Linked DNA regions of Homo sapiens: all the other regions are linked to region 6. The links are contacts of gene promoters, found by promoter capture Hi-C in blood cells and fetal thymus (Javierre and others, 2016). All regions are on one chromosome and are shown on one strand. Each heading gives the region's core, a stretch centred on a gene start or on the middle of the fragment in contact. The rest is flanking DNA. Distances are from core to core; before and after follow the strand shown. Region 1 overlaps CCNT2 (cyclin T2). Region 2 overlaps RAB3GAP1 (RAB3 GTPase activating protein catalytic subunit 1). Region 3 overlaps MAP3K19 (mitogen-activated protein kinase kinase kinase 19). Region 4 overlaps CCNT2 (cyclin T2). Region 5 overlaps MAP3K19 (mitogen-activated protein kinase kinase kinase 19). Region 6 holds the start of LCT (lactase). Region 7 overlaps CCNT2 (cyclin T2).

Evidence for each region. The method cuts DNA at HindIII sites, captures the fragments that hold promoters and counts their contacts. A CHiCAGO score of 5 or more calls a contact.
Region 1: a contact is called between a fragment that was not itself captured here and the fragment with the promoter of LCT in region 6, in 4 of 17 cell types (erythroblasts, naive CD8 T cells, activated CD4 T cells and 1 more). The highest score is 7.1, in erythroblasts.
Region 2: a fragment that was not itself captured here is called in contact with the fragment with the promoter of LCT in region 6 in 1 of 17 cell types (naive CD8 T cells); the score reaches 5.9 in naive CD8 T cells.
Region 3: a fragment that was not itself captured here is called in contact with the fragment with the promoter of LCT in region 6 in 1 of 17 cell types (naive CD8 T cells); the score reaches 5.2 in naive CD8 T cells.
Region 4: a fragment that was not itself captured here is called in contact with the fragment with the promoter of LCT in region 6 in 6 of 17 cell types (erythroblasts, fetal thymus, total CD4 T cells and 3 more); the score reaches 12.5 in erythroblasts.
Region 5: a contact is called between a fragment that was not itself captured here and the fragment with the promoter of LCT in region 6, in 12 of 17 cell types (erythroblasts, naive CD8 T cells, megakaryocytes and 9 more). The highest score is 11.9, in erythroblasts.
Region 7: a contact is called between a fragment that was not itself captured here and the fragment with the promoter of LCT in region 6, in 1 of 17 cell types (erythroblasts). The highest score is 7.5, in erythroblasts.

The regions. Positions count from the first base shown.
Region 1 is chr2:134,959,240-134,961,939 of GRCh38, forward strand. It overlaps CCNT2 (cyclin T2), which reads left to right. Exons shown (of 9, transcript NM_058241.3): 9 at 1-103. Among named protein-coding and RNA genes, the nearest start is that of CCNT2, 42 kb to the left of the region's middle. The HindIII fragment of the contact is 2,736 bases long and covers 54-2,700 here.
Region 2 is chr2:135,098,836-135,101,535 of GRCh38, forward strand. All of the region lies in intron 5 of RAB3GAP1 (RAB3 GTPase activating protein catalytic subunit 1), which reads left to right. Among named protein-coding and RNA genes, the nearest start is that of SNORA40B, 36 kb to the right of the region's middle. The HindIII fragment of the contact is 746 bases long and covers 1,053-1,798 here.
Region 3 is chr2:135,033,099-135,035,798 of GRCh38, forward strand. All of the region lies in intron 2 of MAP3K19 (mitogen-activated protein kinase kinase kinase 19), which reads right to left. Among named protein-coding and RNA genes, the nearest start is that of MAP3K19, 13 kb to the right of the region's middle. The HindIII fragment of the contact is 6,241 bases long and covers 1-2,700 here.
Region 4 is chr2:134,940,373-134,943,072 of GRCh38, forward strand. It overlaps CCNT2 (cyclin T2), which reads left to right. Exons shown (of 9, transcript NM_058241.3): 5 at 2,240-2,302. Among named protein-coding and RNA genes, the nearest start is that of CCNT2, 23 kb to the left of the region's middle. The HindIII fragment of the contact is 1,155 bases long and covers 728-1,882 here.
Region 5 is chr2:134,991,380-134,994,079 of GRCh38, forward strand. MAP3K19 (mitogen-activated protein kinase kinase kinase 19) reads right to left here. Exons shown (of 13, transcript NM_025052.5): 9 at 158-201. Among named protein-coding and RNA genes, the nearest start is that of MAP3K19, 55 kb to the right of the region's middle. The HindIII fragment of the contact is 2,696 bases long and covers 1-2,694 here.
Region 6 is chr2:135,835,779-135,838,478 of GRCh38, forward strand. LCT (lactase) reads right to left here and starts at 1,406. Exons shown (of 17, transcript NM_002299.4): 1 at 752-1,406. The coding sequence starts at 1,391. The HindIII fragment of the contact is 13,164 bases long and covers 1-2,700 here.
Region 7 is chr2:134,923,347-134,926,046 of GRCh38, forward strand. All of the region lies in intron 2 of CCNT2 (cyclin T2), which reads left to right. Among named protein-coding and RNA genes, the nearest start is that of CCNT2, 5.9 kb to the left of the region's middle. The HindIII fragment of the contact is 4,940 bases long and covers 1-2,700 here.

The DNA.
Region 1 (2,700 bases), core at 172-2,671, 880 kb before region 6:
GAAAATCTAAAACAGGAATATGTGTATATGGCATGAATTAGTCATTGACTTTAAGCTTCTTATCCATACAAGGAACTAATAAAATGTTTATTGACAACATAAATCCAAGGCTCTAACATGTCTTAAGTTAATGTGAATCAGAAGTAACTTTGAGGTGGGGCGCAGTGGCTCATGCCTGTAATCCCAGCACTTTGGGAGGCCAAGGCAGGCGGATAACCTGAGGTCAGGAGTTCAACACAACCCTGGTCAACATGGTGAAACCCTGTCTCTACTAAAAATACAAAAATTAGCCGGGTGTGGTGGTGCATGCCTGTAATCCCAGCTACTCGGGAGGCTGAGGCAAGAGAATCGCTTGAACCCAGGAGGCAGAGGTTGCAGAGAGCCCGAGATCGCACCACTGCACTCCAGCCTGGGCGACAGAGCAAGATTCCTTAACAACAACAAAAACAGAAGTAACTTTCAGTCCCTGGAAAATGTGAGATCTCTAGTATAATTGACCCTTTATCCAAGTAATTTCATGTATCATTCAGGAGTGCAGGCTCTGGGATCAAATGGTCCATGCTCTAGTCTCAGCCCTACCATTTAATAACAGAATGGCATTGGGTGAATTACTTGATCTCATGCTTTTTCTTCCCTACAAAGTGTTAGTAGTAGTACCTGTTCATCATAGAGTTGTGTAAGGCTTGGATGGTCAAGGAAGGCTAGATAGAATAGCATTAAAGAGAATCCTAATTGAGGGGTAGATGTGGGATATTGGAATGATGAAGGCCAATCCAGGTGTGTAACTGGAACATATTAAATACTGCATGCCCGCTGTGTCCAGAATTCTCTTAAGTTGTTCATTCTAATTTCTGTTTTAAGATTTTCTTGTCTAACCTCTTGCATCACTCCCATAAAAAGCACAAAGAATAGTTGCAGTACCCATTTAAAATTTTTTATTTTTTGAGACAAGTTCTCACTGTCAGCCAAGCTAGAGTACAGTACAGTGGTGTGATTTTTGGCTTACTATAGCCTCCGCCTCCCAGGCTCAAGCGATCATCCAACCTCAGCCTCCTGAGTAGCTGGGACTACAGGCATGTGCCACCATGCCCGGCTAATTTTGGGGGGTTTTTTTGTGGTTTTTTTGTTTGTTTTGTTTTGTTTTGTTTTGTTGTTGTTCTTGTGTTTGGTAGAACGGGGTTTTGATACGTTGCCCAGGGTGGTTTCAAACTCCTAGGCTCAAGCAATCCGCCCACCTTGGCCTGCAAAAGTGCTAGGATTACAGGTGTGAGCCACCATGCCCGGCCCCTTCAAAAATATTTAAGCATAAGCTGTTCTTTAATAAGGCTGCTCGCCAGCTTCCCTCTCCTTACCAGCAATTTCCCTGCACCTTCCACTTGAAAGAAAATGAAAGCTAATTGCAATAACTTTGATAAAGTAGAATTAGGATAGAAAAGTCGCTTCTTTTAAAATAGATTTTCAGGCCGGGTACGGTGGCTTATGCCTGTAATCCCAGCACTTTGGGAGTTTGAGGCCAAGGTGGGCGGGTCACCTGAGGTGAGGAGTTCGAGAACAGCCTGACCAACATGGCGAAACCCTGTCTCTACTAAAAAATACAAAAAAATTAGCTGGGCGTTGTGGTGCGCGCCTGTAGTCCCAGCTACTCAGGAGGCTGAGGCAGGAGAGAATCGCTTGAGCCTGGGAGGCAGAGGTTGCAGTGAGCCGAGATAGCGCCACTGCACTCCAGCCTAGGCGACAGAGCAAGACTCCATCTCAAAAAAAAAAAAATTTTTTTTTAATTAAAAATAAAACATTTTCAGCCTAAATGTAACATAAATATTTTTTGTATCACAGTTAAGAGATTTGTCTCACTGGTGCTGACACCAGTAAGGGCTTGTTCTATTAACATAATAAATTGGATGGGTTTTAACTTTACAAAGTGAGTAATTCCATCTAACCAAACTCATCTAAGTCCATTGTTTATTCCTTCACCCCTGCCCCCTGCACTTTTCAATATAATAAATTGTATGTTTTTATTTTAGCTGTAGCATATGGCCTGCCTATTCCTTCCCCTCAATACCACCTCCCAAAACAATGTAGGGCCTCACTGACAAAATATTTTTATTATATTGCCATGAAATTAAGAGGCTTACTTAGACCTTTCAAATGTTCAGACACAGTTGAGGAGGCCAGTTTTCTATAGTCTTTCACGTCAGCCTGTTAGTGACTGCTTTATGGATGAATTCAGCCATGGATTTTCATAATGTCGTGATGTCCTGTCAATAGGAGAAAGCACTATCCTCTATAAACTTGACAGTGTAATGGCATATACAAACTTTTTTTTAAACTTTATTACCAGTAGAGAGAGAGGCTGCTTACACCAGAGATTTTTTAATTGGCAGAATCACCTGGAAAGATTTTTAAAATGCAAGTTTCTGCATTTAAATAGCTGCTTTAAACTGAATTAATACTTGTAAGTGCAGCTCGTATGAAGAAGAAAGACGGCCTGGTAGGTGATGGTATGCAGCTTTTGGCTGCTCCTTGAGCAGATTAAGTGGGTTATTATCTTGGAGCTACTCATTACACAGTGTACGACTAAAGTAGGTTAAAGTTAAGGAGATGCTGTAGATCTACTTTTTAGAACTTGGGGGTTAAAATGTCTTTGGTTGAGCTTGGGCCCAGAGCATACAGGAATTTAGTACATAATAAGATGAGTTTTCA
Region 2 (2,700 bases), core at 176-2,675, 740 kb before region 6:
CGTTTCTAGTATGTAGGAATATGGCTGATTTTGAGGGGTTAACCTTGTATCCTGTAACCTTGCTAAACACAATGACTAGTTCTAGGAGTTGTCATTTCTTTGGGATTTTCTATATATACAATCACTGTCTCTGAATATGGATAGTATTATTTCTTTTCTAATCTCTGTGCTTTTTTAAAAATATGTATTACAAGATACCATGAAGCAGTCTGTTCATTTTTTTTTTCTGTTTAAAACTGGCTAGGGCTTCCAGTAAAATATTGAATAGGAGTTGCTTATCTCAGGGGGACAGCATTTAGTCTTTTACTGTTAAGTGTGATGTTAGCTGTAGGTTTTTTCGTAGATGCTCTTTATCAGATTGAGAAAATTCCCTTTTGTTCCTGCTTTGCTGAGAGTTTTTATTATGAATGGATGTTGAATTTTGTCAAATCCTTTTTCTGTTTAAATTGATATGATTGTTGTTTTCTGCTTAAATTGATATGATTTATTTTCTTTAGATTTTTAATATGTTGATTGCATTGACTGATTTTTGGATATATAACCAGCTTTGCATTCTCAAGATAAACTCCACTTCTTTGTGGTGCAATTTGTATTTCTGTGTGTGTGTGTGTGTGTGTGTGTGTGTGTGTGTATGTATGTGTATTGCTGTATTTGATATGCTAATAGTTTGTTGAGGACTTCAGTGTCTATGTTCATGTGGGATGTTGGTCTGTAATTTTCTTTTCTCCTGCTTTGGTTTTGGTATCAGAGTAATGTTGGCCTTATAATGTGAGTCAGAAAGTATTTTGTTCTCTTTTATTTTCTTTGAGAGAGTGTAAAATTTTTTTTTTTTTAACCGTTTGATAGAATTTGCCTTTGAAACTTTCTGAGCCTGGCATTCTCATTTTATTGAGGTGGCAATTCCTTCTAGGGTCCAGGATGTAAGCAGAAGTCTCAGTTCCAGTACCTTGTCTCATGTATACCCATATCCCTGAGAGGTCATTCAAAACATTACAACCTCTGTAGTGATTTGGATTGATGGAGTAAATCTAAATATAAAGGATACAGAAGGAAGCTTGTGCGTTTAGGTTATATAGCAGAGAGATTGGTAATCTCATCAGAAAGATAGGCAGCTTCCAAGTCCCAGGGCCTCGTAAGCAGAGGCACAGTTATGGATGATGATATCTGAGTGATATTGTGCTTCTGGAAGCCTAGTTTCTGGGTGTAGACTTATTTATATTTATTATTATGAGACTGGGGCATTCTTGGACATAGCCTAATCTGGATGCATGCCAGAGACCACTTTCCCTGGGCTGGGTGTACCTTATCATCTCAGAGTTATATAATTCACATTATGACTGCTAGGCTAAAATACATGGTATTGTCAGACGTAAACAGACTTTTCTTCCATCATTCTTGTTCTCTTCAGTCTAGCACAGCATAGTCAGTTTTGCAAACAGTTTTATAAGTCAAACTAACAGACTTTCAGCAGTAAAAGGCTTACCCTATAAAATCCCAGCTCCCAGTGCCCAGCTGTTAGGGCCTATAGCCAAAGCTGATCATCCCCTGGTATTTTTCAGTCACCTTCTATGCTCGCTTTTGCCTTTCAGTATACTCTTTGTTTCTGTTACCCAGGAATCTCCTTTTTATTATTTCAAATTCAGCGGTGTATTTTGACAGCATTGTCATATTTGATCAGGTATTTCTGTGTGTTTTGGGACAAGGAGGGCCTGTGTCATGTTAGTTTGCCGTATGGTTGGAAGTCACTTTCAGTTTTGTCTTACTTGACCTTTCTTAAAGTTTAGGAAGCCAACAACAAAGCTTTTGAGAACTGTTTAAAAGTTAAGCATATTAAATGTATGTGTATTTTCTTTTATTCAACAAATATAATTTTTAAACATTTACTGTGATCCAGATACAGAAATATCAAGAATAAAACATGGTTACTGCCTTAGTAATCTATGGGATTAATAGATAAGGGAGTAGACAACAATAACATTTTGTGATAAATGCTCTCATAGGAGGCAGAACACAAGTTTGATGGAAACTCATAGGAGGTACCTGTAATTCAGACAGATTAAGTCAGGAAAATGTTTCCAGACAAGGTGATACCTCACATGAATCCTGAAAGACAAGTGAGAATAAACCAGGTGAATAAGCTTAATTAATAAGTTAGGTAAAAAGATACTTGAGGCAGAATTAGTAGAGGTGATGATGTTTAAATGCACTTTTGAAACTTGTAGGTAGTTTGGTAAGGTTGGGTATAGCAGTAGAGGGTTGGGAATGGGAAAAGATGAGAAGGACTTTGGTATGTGGGTATTTTAAGACTAATGTGAACCAGACATCTTAAGAGGATTTCATAATATTCTCCTTCTGTTTTATTCATATAATTTTTATTGTAATTGTTAATAAATACATTTCTCAAAAATTTCAAGGATACAGATTACTTGTAATGCTTCAGAGATACTGAAGAATAACATACACAGAAGTTTTCACCTAAACATTTATTTAAATTTGAATTTTAAAAAGTTAAACCAGAATTAAAGCAATGACAATGAAAATTTGAAAACGATTTTGCAATATATGCATCTGTACTTATTTATACCATAAATATACAATTAGTATAGGTTGACCCTGTCAGAGTGATTTAAAATTACTATATGATTAACTTATATTTTCAAATCAAATTCTAGAAAATAGATTTTTGGGATTTATGTCCAA
Region 3 (2,700 bases), core at 190-2,689, 800 kb before region 6:
ATCATGGCCCGTTCTCAATGAGCTGTTGGGTACACCTCCCAGACGGGGTGGTGGCCGGGCAGAGGGGCTCCTCACATCCCAGTAGGGGCGGCCGGGCAGAGGCGCCCCTCATCTCCCAGACGAGGCGGCTGGCCGGGCGGGGGGCTGACCCCCCCACCTCCCTCCCAGACAGGGCGGCTGGCCGGGCAGAGGGGCTCCTCACCTCCCAGTAGGAGCGGCTGGGCAGAGGCGCCCCTCACCTCCCGGACGGGGCAGCTGGCCGGGTGGGGGGCTGACCCCCCCCACTGCCCTCCCGGACGGGGCGGCTGGCCGGGCAGAGGGGATCCTCACTTCCCAGTAGGGGCGGTCGGGCAGAGGCGCCCCCCACCCCCCGGACGGGGCGGCTGGCCGGGCAGAGGGGCTCCTCACTTCCCAGTAGGGGCAGCCGGGCAGAGGCGCCCCTCACCTCCCGGACGGGGCGGCTGGCGGGCGGGGGGCTGACCCCCCCACCGCCCTCCCAGACGGGGCGGCTGGCCGGGCAGAGGGGCTCCCCACCTCCCAGCAGGGGTGGCTGGGCAGAGGCGCCCCCCACCCCCCGGACGGGCGGCCGGCCGGGGGGGCTAACCCCCCCCACCTCCCTCCCGGACGGGGTGGCTGGCCGGGCAGAGGGGCTCCTCACTTCCCAGTAGGGGTGGCCGGGCAGAGGCGCCCCTCACCTCCCGGACGGGGTGGCTGGCCGGGCGGGGGGGCTGACCCCCCCACCTCCCTCCCGGACGGGGTGGCTGGCCTGGCGGGGGCTGACCCCCACCTCCCTCCCGGACGGGGTGGCTGCCGGGCGGAGACGCTCCTCACTTCCCAGACAGGGTGGCTGCCGGGCGTAGGGGCTCCTCACTTCTCAGACGGGGCGGCTGCCGGGCGGAGGGGCTCCTCACTTCTCAGACGGGGCAGTTGCCAGGCGGAGGGTCTCCTCACTTCTCAGATGGGGCGGCCGGGCAGAGATGCTCCTCACCTCCCAGACGGGGTCGCGGCCGGATGCTCTCACATCCCAGACGGGGCCGCGGGGCAGAGGCGCTCCCCACATCTCAGGCGATGGGCGGCCGGGCAGAGACGCTCCTTACTTCCTAGATGGGATGGTGGCCGGGAAGAGGTGCTCCTCACTTCCTAGATGGGATGGCGGCCGGGCAGAGACGCCCCTCACTTCCCAGACGGGATGGCGGCCGGGAAGAGGCACTCCTCACTTTCCAGACTGGGCAGCCAGGCAGAGGGGCTCCTCACGTCCCAGACGATGGGTGGCCAGGCAGAGATGCTCCTCACTTCCCAGAAGGGGTGGCGGCCGGGCAGAGGCTGCAATCTCGGCACTTTGGGAGGCCAAGGCAGGCGGCTGGGAGGTGGAGGTTGTAGCGAGCCGAGATCACGCCACTGCACTCCAGCCTGGGCACCATTGAGCACTGAGTGAACCAGACTCCGTCTGCAATCCCGGCACCTCGGGAGGCCGAGGCTGGCGGATCACTCGCGGTTAGGAGCTGGAGACCAGCCCGGCCAACACAGCGAAACCCCGTCTCCACCAAAAAAGTAAGAAAACCAGTCAGGCGTGGTGGCGCGCTACAGGCACTCGGCAGGCTGAGGCAGGAGAATCAGGCAGGGAGGTTGCAGTGAGCCGAGATGGCAGCAGTACAGTCCAGCTTCGGCTGGGCATCAGAGGGAGACCGTGGAAAGAGAGGGAGGGGGAGACCGTGGGCTGTGGGGAGAGGGGGAGGGGGAGGGGGAGGGGGAGGGGGAGGGGGAGAGGGAGAGGGAGAGGGAGAGCCAAACCCTATTTCTTGAGGGAAGCAAACCTATTATCTTTAGCCTAAAATCCCAAAATGTTGTATATCAAGAAAATGTGATATTATTTGGTTATAAAAATAAAGTATTGACACATGCTACAACATGAATGAACCTTGAAAACATTATGCTAAGTGAAAGAAGCCAATCACAGGAGACCACATACTATATGATTCCATTCATATGAAAATCCCAAATAAGAAAAGTTACAGAGGCCAAGCACGGTGGCTCACACCTGTAATCCCAGCACTTTGGGAGGCCGAAGCAGGTGGATCACTTTAGCTCAGGAGTTCAAGACCAGCCTGGGCAACTTGGTGAAACCCTGTCTCTACAAAAAATACAAAAATTAGCTGGGCATGATGGCACATGCCTGTAGTCCCAGCTACCTGGGAGGCTGAGGCAGGAGGATCACCTCAGCCCAGGAGGTAGGGCCTGCAGTGAGCTGTGATCGTGCTACTGCACTCCAGCCTGGGCAACAGAGTGAGATCCTGTCTCAAAACAAACAAACAGACAAACAAAAAACAATAAAAAAGGAACAGCTATACAAACAGAAAGTAGGTAAGTGGCTGCTTAGGGCTGGGGTGGGAGTTGGGAAGAAAGGATATAGAGTGATAGCTAAAGGATATCGGGTTTCTTTTTATCTTCTTTTTCTGGGGATGAAGTTCTTTTTGAGATGATAGGTGCTCTAAAATCAATTGTGAGGATTGCACATTAATATGAATATACAAAAAAACATGGAAGTGGCCACTTTAAGTAAGTAAATTGTATGGTATATGAATTTTATCTCAATAAAGCTGTTTTTGAAAATGGCTTTGCATGCCTTTATGGCTTTGCATGATCCAGCCCCTGCCTGCATTTCCAGCTTTATCTTGTGCCATTCTTCACCCTCCCTCTGCA
Region 4 (2,700 bases), core at 55-2,554, 900 kb before region 6:
ATGAATGCATAAACTATATATAGATATTAGTCTATTTTATCATTTACTGCCATAAAATATACATAAATCTATTTTTAAAAGATAAAAATTTTAAAAAGTTAGGCACACAAACAGACAATATGTGGCTCTATTCGCAGTTAAGAGAAAATGTAAATAAACAAATGTAAAGGTACATAAAATTAATTTTAATAATACGTAACTGTACTGCTGTGATAATTTTGTAGCCACCTCCTGTTGCTATTGCAGTGAGCTCACATGTTATGAGTATCCACGTAAAATGCTGTGTGACACCTGTCATCTCTGAACAGTTTGTCTCTCCAGTAAATTACATATTGCGGTAAAAGAGGTTCTGGCATATTTTTACCGTATTTAGTGCGATACTGGAAACTTGGATTAATACCATGGGACCCATACAAAGTGCCTCTAGTGATGCCAGAAGTGCTCCCAAGAAGCAGATGAAAGTTGTGATGTTACAAAAAAAAGTTGAATTGTTTGATATGTACTGTAGATTGAGGTCTGTAGCTACAGTTGCCCATTTCAAGATAAATGAATCCAGTGTAAGGTTCAGTGTGAAAGAAGAAAAAGACATTTGTGAAGTCATCGCTGCAGCTATACCAGCAGGCACAAAAACCTTGCACTTTATCTCATATTGAAAATGAAGCTTTTATGTGAATGCAGGATTGCTGTAAGAAAGGCATACCTATGGACTCTAATATGATTGGAGAGAAGCTTAAAGCAAAGGGAAGGTGAAGGATCTAAAGCCAGAGAATTTAATGCCAGCGAAAGACAGAAATTGTGGTGTATTTCTGTAAAGTTACACCAGGTGTTGCCTGCCTCTCCTGCCTCCTCTTTTGTGTCTTCCAACCTGAGACAGTAAGACCAACCCCTCTTCCTCAGCCTACTCTGTATGGAGACCTTTATGATGATCCACTTCCACTTAATACTAGTAAATACATTTTCTCTTCCTTATGATTTTCTTAATAGTTTCTTTAGCTTACTGTGTTGTAAAAATACAGTATATGATACATATACAAAATATGTGTTGATTAACTGTTTATGTTACCAGTAAGGCTTCAGCGGTAAGCAGGTTCTGATCAACGATAGTTAAGTCTTAGGGGAGTACTTGGATTTTCGACTGCATGGGGATCGGCACCCCTAGGCCCTGCGTTGTTCAGAGGTCAGCTGTAAATTATTTGAAGTTTCTATAAAATAAAAAGATACCAAAAAAGTGAGGGTCTTATTTCTTCCAAATCCAATGATTTAGCATGTTATTGTTTTACTATACAAAATTATATAAATTTCATTTAAGTAAAAAATTGAAAATGAAAAATCATAAATCATTATAAAATATTTAGTTGTTATATAAAATCGTAATGTAATATCCATATTGTTTATGACATATTCTTAAGCACAGAGAATGAAAAGTGTTATTTTAAGGGGAACATTAGAATTTAGAAGATATGCCTCTATGGCTTTAAAGTATTCTGCATATTTAATTACAGTAGAACTATATATAGACCACACAACAACTTTATAAATCTAGATTACCCATTTGTTAGGATTTTATTTACTTACTGCTTCTGAAGACAACCAAATGTGATCTTCACTTTTAATAAAAACAGAAACCCTGCCACACCTAAGGGTTGATTGCACGTTGATAGCTTTTAAACATTTCATCTTTGGTATTAGAAACAGTAGTTTAAGCAGTCATGAGACCTCTATGGTTTGTCATATGATTTTGATTATTAATGAAGTATGGTTATAAGGTAACTGGTTGAAACCCTTTGATCTAGAGTGCCGTATCATTTAAAAGCTCGTTTCTACCACTGTGGCCCAACAGTTATGTTTATGAAAACTGCACTTTTCATGTCTTCTGAAAGAAAGCTTTGGAATATTAAGAAAGATATTACGTAGTTGAATTCCGTCCTTAAATTGTGGGACCAGCTTAACAGTTGTATTTGCCAGGAATTTAATTTGTTTTTAAGATAATCCCGAATCATTTATAATTCAGAATTTTGAATAAATTTACCCTTGGTCTTTTAACTTTATTTTCATAATTGAGACATTGTATTTGAAAAATTATATCTTGTCATTGGAAAAGTAATGAGAATGTCAGTGATGAGAAACTTATAACTTTGGATTTTTCTTAATAATGAAGAATATATTATACGTTTATGGCATTTCTCAGGCAAGTACTGTAGTGGTAAGAGATTGGAAAAAAAAGTGCTTATCATTTCAGGTTTTGAGATCACCATTGAACACCCACACACAGATGTGGTGAAATGTACCCAGTTAGTAAGAGGTAGGTGATCCTTGAAACTTTTAAGATAAGTATTAATGCTTTTTATTATCTGTAATTGATTTGGGTGCTATTTTGTTTTTCTAGCCTTTTGTTAGGTTTCATTAAAATTAGGGAGAAATGTCATTTTTTAAGCATTACTTTTTAGTGTTCTACATCTACTTCTATTTGTGATTCTACCTGGTATGTTAGCTTCCTTTAAACATAGGTAAGAATCTCATTTCACTAAAACTCCGGAGGGCTTCCAAGTATTAGGACTCTATCCATCCCCCATTGAGCTTTGCTAGTCCCATTTCAGTCAAGTGTGGGCCAATAGTGCATAGGTTCAGAAAATAATATTAATTTTGGGTTTGTGTCAAACTTTGACTTTTTGAAAAGTGATAACAGTTGAAGAATTTTGA
Region 5 (2,700 bases), core at 97-2,596, 840 kb before region 6:
CTTATGTGTGGATTTTTGACTGTGTTGGGGACATCAGTGACCCTACCCCCTGCATTGTTGAAGGGTCAAGTGTAATTGCTGAGGATTTGGTTCTAAATTAGTGAATAGAGTTGTTTGGTTTTAATTCTCAAGTCAAAAATGCTAGCACTAATCTTACCTTGATGCTTCGGCCACTGTACTTCATATGAGAGGTCGAAAACTCTACAACAAGAAAAACAATAACTGGATATTCTTAGTAGTAGAAAGAAAACAGTCTCAAGCCAGAGTCTGGGGATGGAGTAATACAGATGCTAAGGGGTCTGAGGAAAAGTTGTAGAAATTGGAGGTTTCCCCTGTGGAATTCACACAGAGGTGGAATCATCACACAAAACTTCAGGCTGCTGCCACTAGCAGGGGTTGCTGTTTTATATTTATATCTCTATTCTGACAGAAAACCTGAGATCTCTGGACCAGAGAGCAGACCATTTATCACTCACAGAACATTGTAATGCCAGTTCCCCACAACCCAGTTCCTCACAGGGCAACGTGATGAGAGCCGGGTGTTGACCTGCACAGCTGGCAGAGCTGCATCACAGGAGGGAGCTCTGGAATGATGAGACTCAGGTGGTATATTGGGTGGTGGCACTTTAGCCCATCTTTCCCTCCAGAGAAGGAGAGAGCACTTTACTATGAATTGTAAGCAAATGCCTCCAGGAGAAAGATGACTCTATGTTTTATTACCCTAGAATATAAGCAAACAGCTTTTGGGAAAATCAGCCTCTAAATTTCTCTGGAGCAATACACTAACTTCGGAGGCGTTTCTGACATTCAGTCATCTTTTAACTTAGTTTCCTAGTGTTTTTTGCTTAGAAAGCCTGAACTGTGCAGAAATGTGAAAATATTCTTGTATAAGTGTCTCCCAACAGTTGTTTAAACTAGATCGACCATAAACTCTGAAAGGTGAGTGTGAGGAAGACTCACCTAGGGAACGAGATGGGACTTACTAGGTAGTATAAAACTTACAAGTTGTTCTCTTCTTACCAAAAAGTCAGAATGATCCCCAAAACCCCATGAACCACCACCACCACCACTTCTGCATAGTTTGGACTTTCTAAAGCTGAAGCCAAAAGCTCCAGTGTCTCCAGGGTCAAAACAGTTCACAGAAATGGATGATGTGGGACAGGAAGACACAGCAGTAAATCGAGATCATATGCCCAACTAAAGGGGCATCATTACCCAGCTCGCAGTGATGTTATCCAACCCAGATAGATAGTCCAGCCCTGCTACATCTTCCAAAAGAAGCCAGAGAGCTGCAGATTTTTTTTTTTTGAGACAGGGTCTCGCTCTGTCGCCCAGGCTGGAGTATAGTGGCATGATCTCAGCTCGCTGCAACCTCCACCTCCTGGGTTCAAGCAATTCTCCTGCCTCAGCCTCCCGAGAAGCTGGGATTACAGGCACCTGCCATCATGCCCGGCTAATTTTTTGTGTATTTTTTATTTTTTAGTAGACACGGGGTTTCACTATGTTGGCTAGGCTGGTCTCGAACACTTGACCTCGTGATCCACCGGCCTCGGCCTCCCAAAGTGCTGGGATTACAGGTGTGAGCCACCGCGCCCAACCCAAGCTGCAGGTTTTATGTGAAATCTCCTTCCCCCACCCTTGCTTATTTATTTAAAATTTTTATATTTTTAATTTTTTGTATAGACAGGGTCTTACTGTATTGCCCAGGCTGGTCTCAAACTCCTAGGCTCAAACAATCCTCCCTTCTTGGCTTCCCAAAGTTCTGGGATTCCAGGTGTGAGCCACTGGGCCTGGCCTCTCCTCCCTTGTTTTTCAATGTTGTGAGGGTCAAACAAATGTCTGTAGGTCCATTTCAGCCTCAGGCTGTCATTCTGAAGTTTCACACGGAGAGAAAAAGACTTCTAAGATTTAACACAGTAGAAAAGCCAATCCCAGGTGAAAAACAAGTCACCTAAGAAGAGGACCCCAACAGGCAACAGGAGGGGGCACAGGCATTCCCCTTGGACACAGCTGGCCATGGCACCTCCCCTTCATTCTTAATGCATTTACTCAACAATTATTTACTGAGTGCCTGCTGAGTGGCCAACACTGTCCCAGAAGATGGCAATTTATAGTTGTGGGCAGGAAAGACAGATCTTTGCTCTTTGCTCCCAGAGGTTGCATTCTAGAGGTTGAGGTTTTCTATTGAAAAGATGTTAGAAGTTAATCTAGAAATACAACTGAATATAATTTATAGTTGGGTACATAATGGATAGCATCCTGAATTTTTTAAAAAAACGCTTTCAAGTATTCTTATAAATATTTGAATATGTATTATCCAGTATTGGTCAGGAATTATGTGGGGTAAAGACTTTTGGTGGGAATGTAGAGGCAAGATCTTTCTGGTAGGTAATTTGGTAACATGTGTCAAAGCCTTTTAAAAATGTGTAGAGACCACTCTGAGCAACATAGCGAGACCCCATCTCTACAAAAAATGTTAAAAGTAGCCAGGTGTGGTGCCATGCACCTGTACTCCCAGCTACTCAGGAGGCTGTGGTGGAGGATCACTTAAGCCTGGAATATTGAGGCTGCAGCGAGCCATGTTTGCACCACTGCACTCCAGCATGGGCAACAGAGCGAGACCCTATCTCCAAAAAAGTAAATAAAATAAAATAAGTACAGAGTTCCAATTAAAAATGGCAGATTGAATGTACAAGCTTT
Region 6 (2,700 bases), core at 156-2,655:
TTGTCTGTCTCCCAAGCTGCAATGTAAGCTCCAACTAAGACATGTAAGTATAGGGGAGCCGAGGGGGAAGGACAGGAAACCACGAAACTTTGCCTCCAAGTCAGGGTAGCAGGACATAGACGGAAAGGAAGACAGAAAGACAATCAGTGCTTGCACAACTCAAGACTGGGCAAGGGGTATTTCAAAAATACATGTGTGTATATATATATATATATATATATATATATATATATATATGTATACATATTTTTTTTTTTTGAGATTGTGTCTTGCTCTGTCGCACAGGCTGTAGTACAGTGGCATGATTTCGGCTCACTGCAACATCTGCCTCCTGGGTTCAAGCAATTCTCCTGCCTAAGCCTCCCGAGTAGCTGGGATCACAGGCGCCTGCTACCATCCCTGGCTAATTTTGGTATTTTTAGTAGAGACGGGGTTTTGCCATATTGGCCAGGCTGGTCTCGAACTCCTGACTTCAAGTGATCCGCCCACCTCGGCCTCCCAAAGTGCTAGGATTACAGGCGTGAGCCTCAAAGATATTTTTCAAAGGAAATGCTGAGTGTTTTGCCATGTTAGCTACCCCTTCCTATCGCCAGTGGGAAATCAATTTACAATATTAATTTCTCCCTATGCACAGACATAAGAGGACTGCTGAAGGTGAGTTGGGAGAAATGTCGAATCTGCTCTAAGGAGGATGGGGAAGGTGTGTGATGAAGGTTGCCGAGGGGTCACCATCAGGTCAATGTGTACTCACCCTGAAAAGCATAGCTTTCGTGGTAAATCTCATAGGCTTTTCTGTGGGCATCACTGAGGGTCTGGAGTTGTGACGCTCTTGATTCCTGGTGGGGAAGCTCCTTGATCACTTCCTCCAAGTCACTGAAGGTGAACCAGATCCCAACTAGGTCCCCGAAGGAGTGGAAGGCGAATGTGGCATAGTCGGCGAAGAGGTCAGCAAAGGCTTCGGTTCTCCGGAGGGTGCTGGCAGGGAGGGTCTGGTGGTGCAGGATGACCATGGGCTGAAGCCGTGCAGTCTTGAGGGCCTTGAGGAGTCGCCGGTAGCACTGCACTGTTTTCTCGTCTGGATTCTGGGTGCTTCCTGCTGGGAGGAGCTGTGCCCATGACAGAAATACCTTATAATGGGTGATCTGACTGGCATGGAGACTGCTGAAGTATTCTGGCAGGAAAGTGGGCAGTGGCTGGTGACAAACATACATGTCTTTGTCCCCTGCTACAAAGTTAGAACTCTGGTCTCCCAGGAGACCACTCAGGTTGTGCAGCAAGTCATTGGTTAGAGGACCAGCGGTGGAAATGAAATTTCTATCAGACTCCCAGTCTGACCCCCAGCATGAAAAACTTAGCAGGGCAATAAAGACTACATGCCAAGACAGCTCCATTTTCTAGGAACTGTTAGGAGGTATGTGGAACCCTTACTTTATAACTGCAACTGAGGTTGTAAAATACTAAGTGATAATTAAGACTTAATATTTAACTGGGTTATCTATGATCACAAAATCAGTACACGGTTCACTAATGCAATATTTAAAAATGTAAAGATCAGGGCCGGGCGTGGTGGCTCACACCTGTAATTCCAGCACTTTGGGAGGCCGAGGTGGGCGGATCACGAGGTCAGGAGATCGAGACCGTCCTAGCTAACATGGTGAAACCCCATCTCTACTAAAAATACAAAAAATTAGCCAGGCATCGTGGCATGCGCCTGTAGTCCCGGCTACTCAGGAGGCTGAGGCAGGAGAATCACTTGAACCCAGGAGGCGGAGGTTGCAGGAGCCAAGATCATGCCACTGCACTCCAGCCTGGGCAACAGAATGAGACTCCATCTTAAAAAAAAAAAAAAAAAAAAAAGGTAAAGACCAACACAAAAACCTCAGACTTCCTATACAAGTTAAGCAGAGGAACCCGGAAAATGTCTGAAGAAAACGATTACCAATTTTTTTTGTTTTTTTTGTTTTTTGGTGACCGGGTCTCACTCTGTTGCCCAGGTGGGAGTGCAGTGGTGCGATCACAGCTTCCTGCAGCCTTGACTTCCTGGGCTCAAGTGATCCTCCCATCTCAGCATCCTGGGTAGGTGGGACCATAGGTGTGCGCCACCACGACTGGCTAATTTTTTGTATTTTTAGTAGAGATGGAGTTTTGCCATGTCACCCAGGCTGGTCTTGAACTCCTGGGCTCAAGCAATCCTCTTGCCTCAGCCTCCTAAAGTGTTGGGATTACAGGTGTGAGCCAGCGCACCCAGCCACACATTATTTTAAAATTTGTTTACATAATACAAAAATAAGTATTTTGCCCCAAATTTTCTCTTTAAAAATATGCTGAACATATTTTGTAAGAGATTCAAACAATATGGAAACATCTATGAAAAACTTGCAAATTCCTTCACCCTCCCCCCTCCTCTTCCTATAATAAGTATCTTCAGCAATATGTATCTTTCCAGTTTTCTTTCTCTGCATATCTTAATGGTTATACAGGAGTCAGAATGCCTGGGTTTAAATCTCACCTGACAAAAATTACTTAACTTTGTGCCTCTATTTTGTCACCTGTAGAATGTGGATAATTCATCATAGGCTGTGGGGATTAAATGGGTCTTTCTTGTAGCATGTATACAACAGTACAGCTCAGGGATCATTATTATTACGTAAATACAAATGGAAACGTGTATAACATTTAAAATATAGAACAATTTAACAT
Region 7 (2,700 bases), core at 122-2,621, 910 kb before region 6:
TTGTTATACTCTGGTCATGTTTTACAGAAGTCAAATCAGCATATGTTTCATTGTGAAGTCTAAGCAGGTGTTTATAGCTTACTTCTCTTTCTGCCTTTTAGTTTAATAAAGCAATAATTAATCCAACAATAATCTTATGCCCAAGATCCATTAGCATTACTTGGAAATACTGCAGTGCTGTCCAGTAGAACTTTCTGCATAGCGCAAGTTTTGTGTATCTGTGCTCTTCAATGTAGTAGGTACTAACCTGTAAATTTGAGACGATTAGCCTAGATGATTTTTAAATTCCTTTTAAACTATAAATTACCTGGTTGAAATTTTATTAAGATCTCACTATGCCAGGCACTTTATATTTGTCTTGTTTTCTCAGGTAAAGTATTCTCCTAAGGAAGCAGACGCAGTTACCAAGTGACTTGTCCGAAATTAAAACTATTACGTGGCTGGGATTTGAACCCAAGTCCTTTGCTTAATCCCAAACTGTAGTTCTCACTTTTTCCTGTTCTAGTATATTTCAGAAGTAGAGCACAGTAGCAATTTATGCCAGTGATTTGTAAGATTTATAAAGTAAACAATGAAAAAACCTCAGATTTTTATTTGCCCGCCTCATTGCACTAAATCCAATGAGGTCCTCTTTATAAGTCCCAAATTCCTCTTTTTCAACTATACATCAGTGTTAGCATTTATGCATTGTGTATCACTGTTTTTCCTTAGGGTGCTTTCTCTTTGCTTTCATGTGACTGTGCTCTGTCAGGTTTTAAGACTCAGCTGAAGTTGCTACTCTTTCATAAAGCATTCCCCAGATAACTCTCTTTTCCATTTGTGAATTTATCTCTCTGATCTTACCTTTGAATCTTATTCACATCCAGTTGTATTCCATCTATTTGGGAGTTTATAGTGCTGTAGTGTAACTGTACATATATGAGATGAGTGTTTTCTTTTTAATTGTAAAATATATAAAACCACCAAACAAATGTATAGTGGATTATTATAAAACAACCTTGTAATCACCAACCAAGTCAAGAAATAGAACTTTGCCAACTACCCCGGAATGTCTCCACGTGCTCAACTCAGTGTCGATCCCCTCCCTCCAAAAGTAACCAGTATTCTTTTTTATTTTTTTGAGATAGGAGTCTGGTCTTGTCGCCCAGGCTGGAGTGCAGTGGTGCAATCTCGGCTCGCTGCAACCTCCGCCTCCTGAGTTCAAGTGAATCTCCTGCCTTAGCCTCCTGGGTAGCTGGGATTACAGGCATGCACCACCATGCCCAGCTAATTTTTGTATTTTTAGTAGAGACGGGTTTTCACCATGTTGGTCTGGCTGGTCTCAAACTCCTGACCTCGTGATTCCCCCCACCTCGACCTCCCAAAGTGCTGGGATTACAGGCGTTAGCCACCTCGCCCGGCCCCAGTATTCTTACTCTAATCACTTTCTTTATAGTTTTAGCACCCAACTCTGCATTCCCAAATACCATAGACCTTGCTCATTATTAAAAATTTGGTAAGTCTTTGAAGTCTCTCAGTATGCATGTTTCCCCTCCATCTTTTTATGTCAACTAAGTTGTAGCTGTTGAAGGACCCTAGAGTGTGTGACCTGTAGAGTTTCCAACTGTCTGAATTTTGCTGATTGTATACTCATGGTGCAGTTTACTGTGTTCCTTTTTTCTTGCATTCCTGGAAAAATTGATGATTAGATCCAGAAACTTAATCAGACTCCTGTTAGATCCCTTAGGCAAGGCTATAGATGGTGTTAATGTTCTTTGGTCAGAAGGTCTAAAGTCTGGTTGTCTCTCTTTGTAGTGTTAGTGGCTGCTGATATTCAATGCCTGGGTCCTTTCATTCATTGGTGATACTCTAATTCTGTCATTTCTTTCTTACAAATTGGTATTTTTGTATTGGAATTCTTGATTCATCTCATATGGACACCCAGTGGCACGTATCATATAGGATAATTACTGGATTTTTGCCCTTTTTGTGATATAATTCACATATTGTACATTTCACCCATTGAAAGTATGATTCCGTGGGGTTTGTGGGTTTTTTTAAGAATATTCACAGAGGTGTGCATCAATTTTTAGAAGTCTTCACTACACCAAAAAGAAACCCCCAACCCCGCAGTCATTTCTCCCTATTTTTCCCCCAGCCTATTAATAGACATTTCATTAATGGAATCCTACAGTATGTTGTCCTTTGTGACTGACTTCTTTCACTTACCGTGTTTTCAAGGCTCATCTATGTTGTTGTATTTATTCAGTAGGTTGTTTACTTTTCTTGCTGTACTACCCATTATTCCACTGTATGGCTAGACCACATTATATATATATGTTCATCAGTTGGTGGGCATTTGGATTGTTAGCCACTTTTTGGCTAATATGAATAGTGCTCTTAAGAACATTTGTGTACAAGTTTTTGTGTAGACTTGTGTTTTTGGTTTCTCTTGGGCTTATACCCAGGAGTAGAATTGCTGGATCATATGGTAACTCTAGATTCCAATAATATTGGAAACTTGGATAGCTGCCTTTTTTTTTTTTTTTTTTTTTTTTGAGACTAGGTCTCCCTCTGACACCCGGGCTGGAGTGCAGTGGCACAATCATGGCTCACTGCAGCATCAACCTCCTGGGTTCAAGTGATTCCCCCACCTTAGCCTCCCAAGTAGCTGGAATTACAGGCACATGCCACCACACAGTTAATTTTTTTAATTTTTTG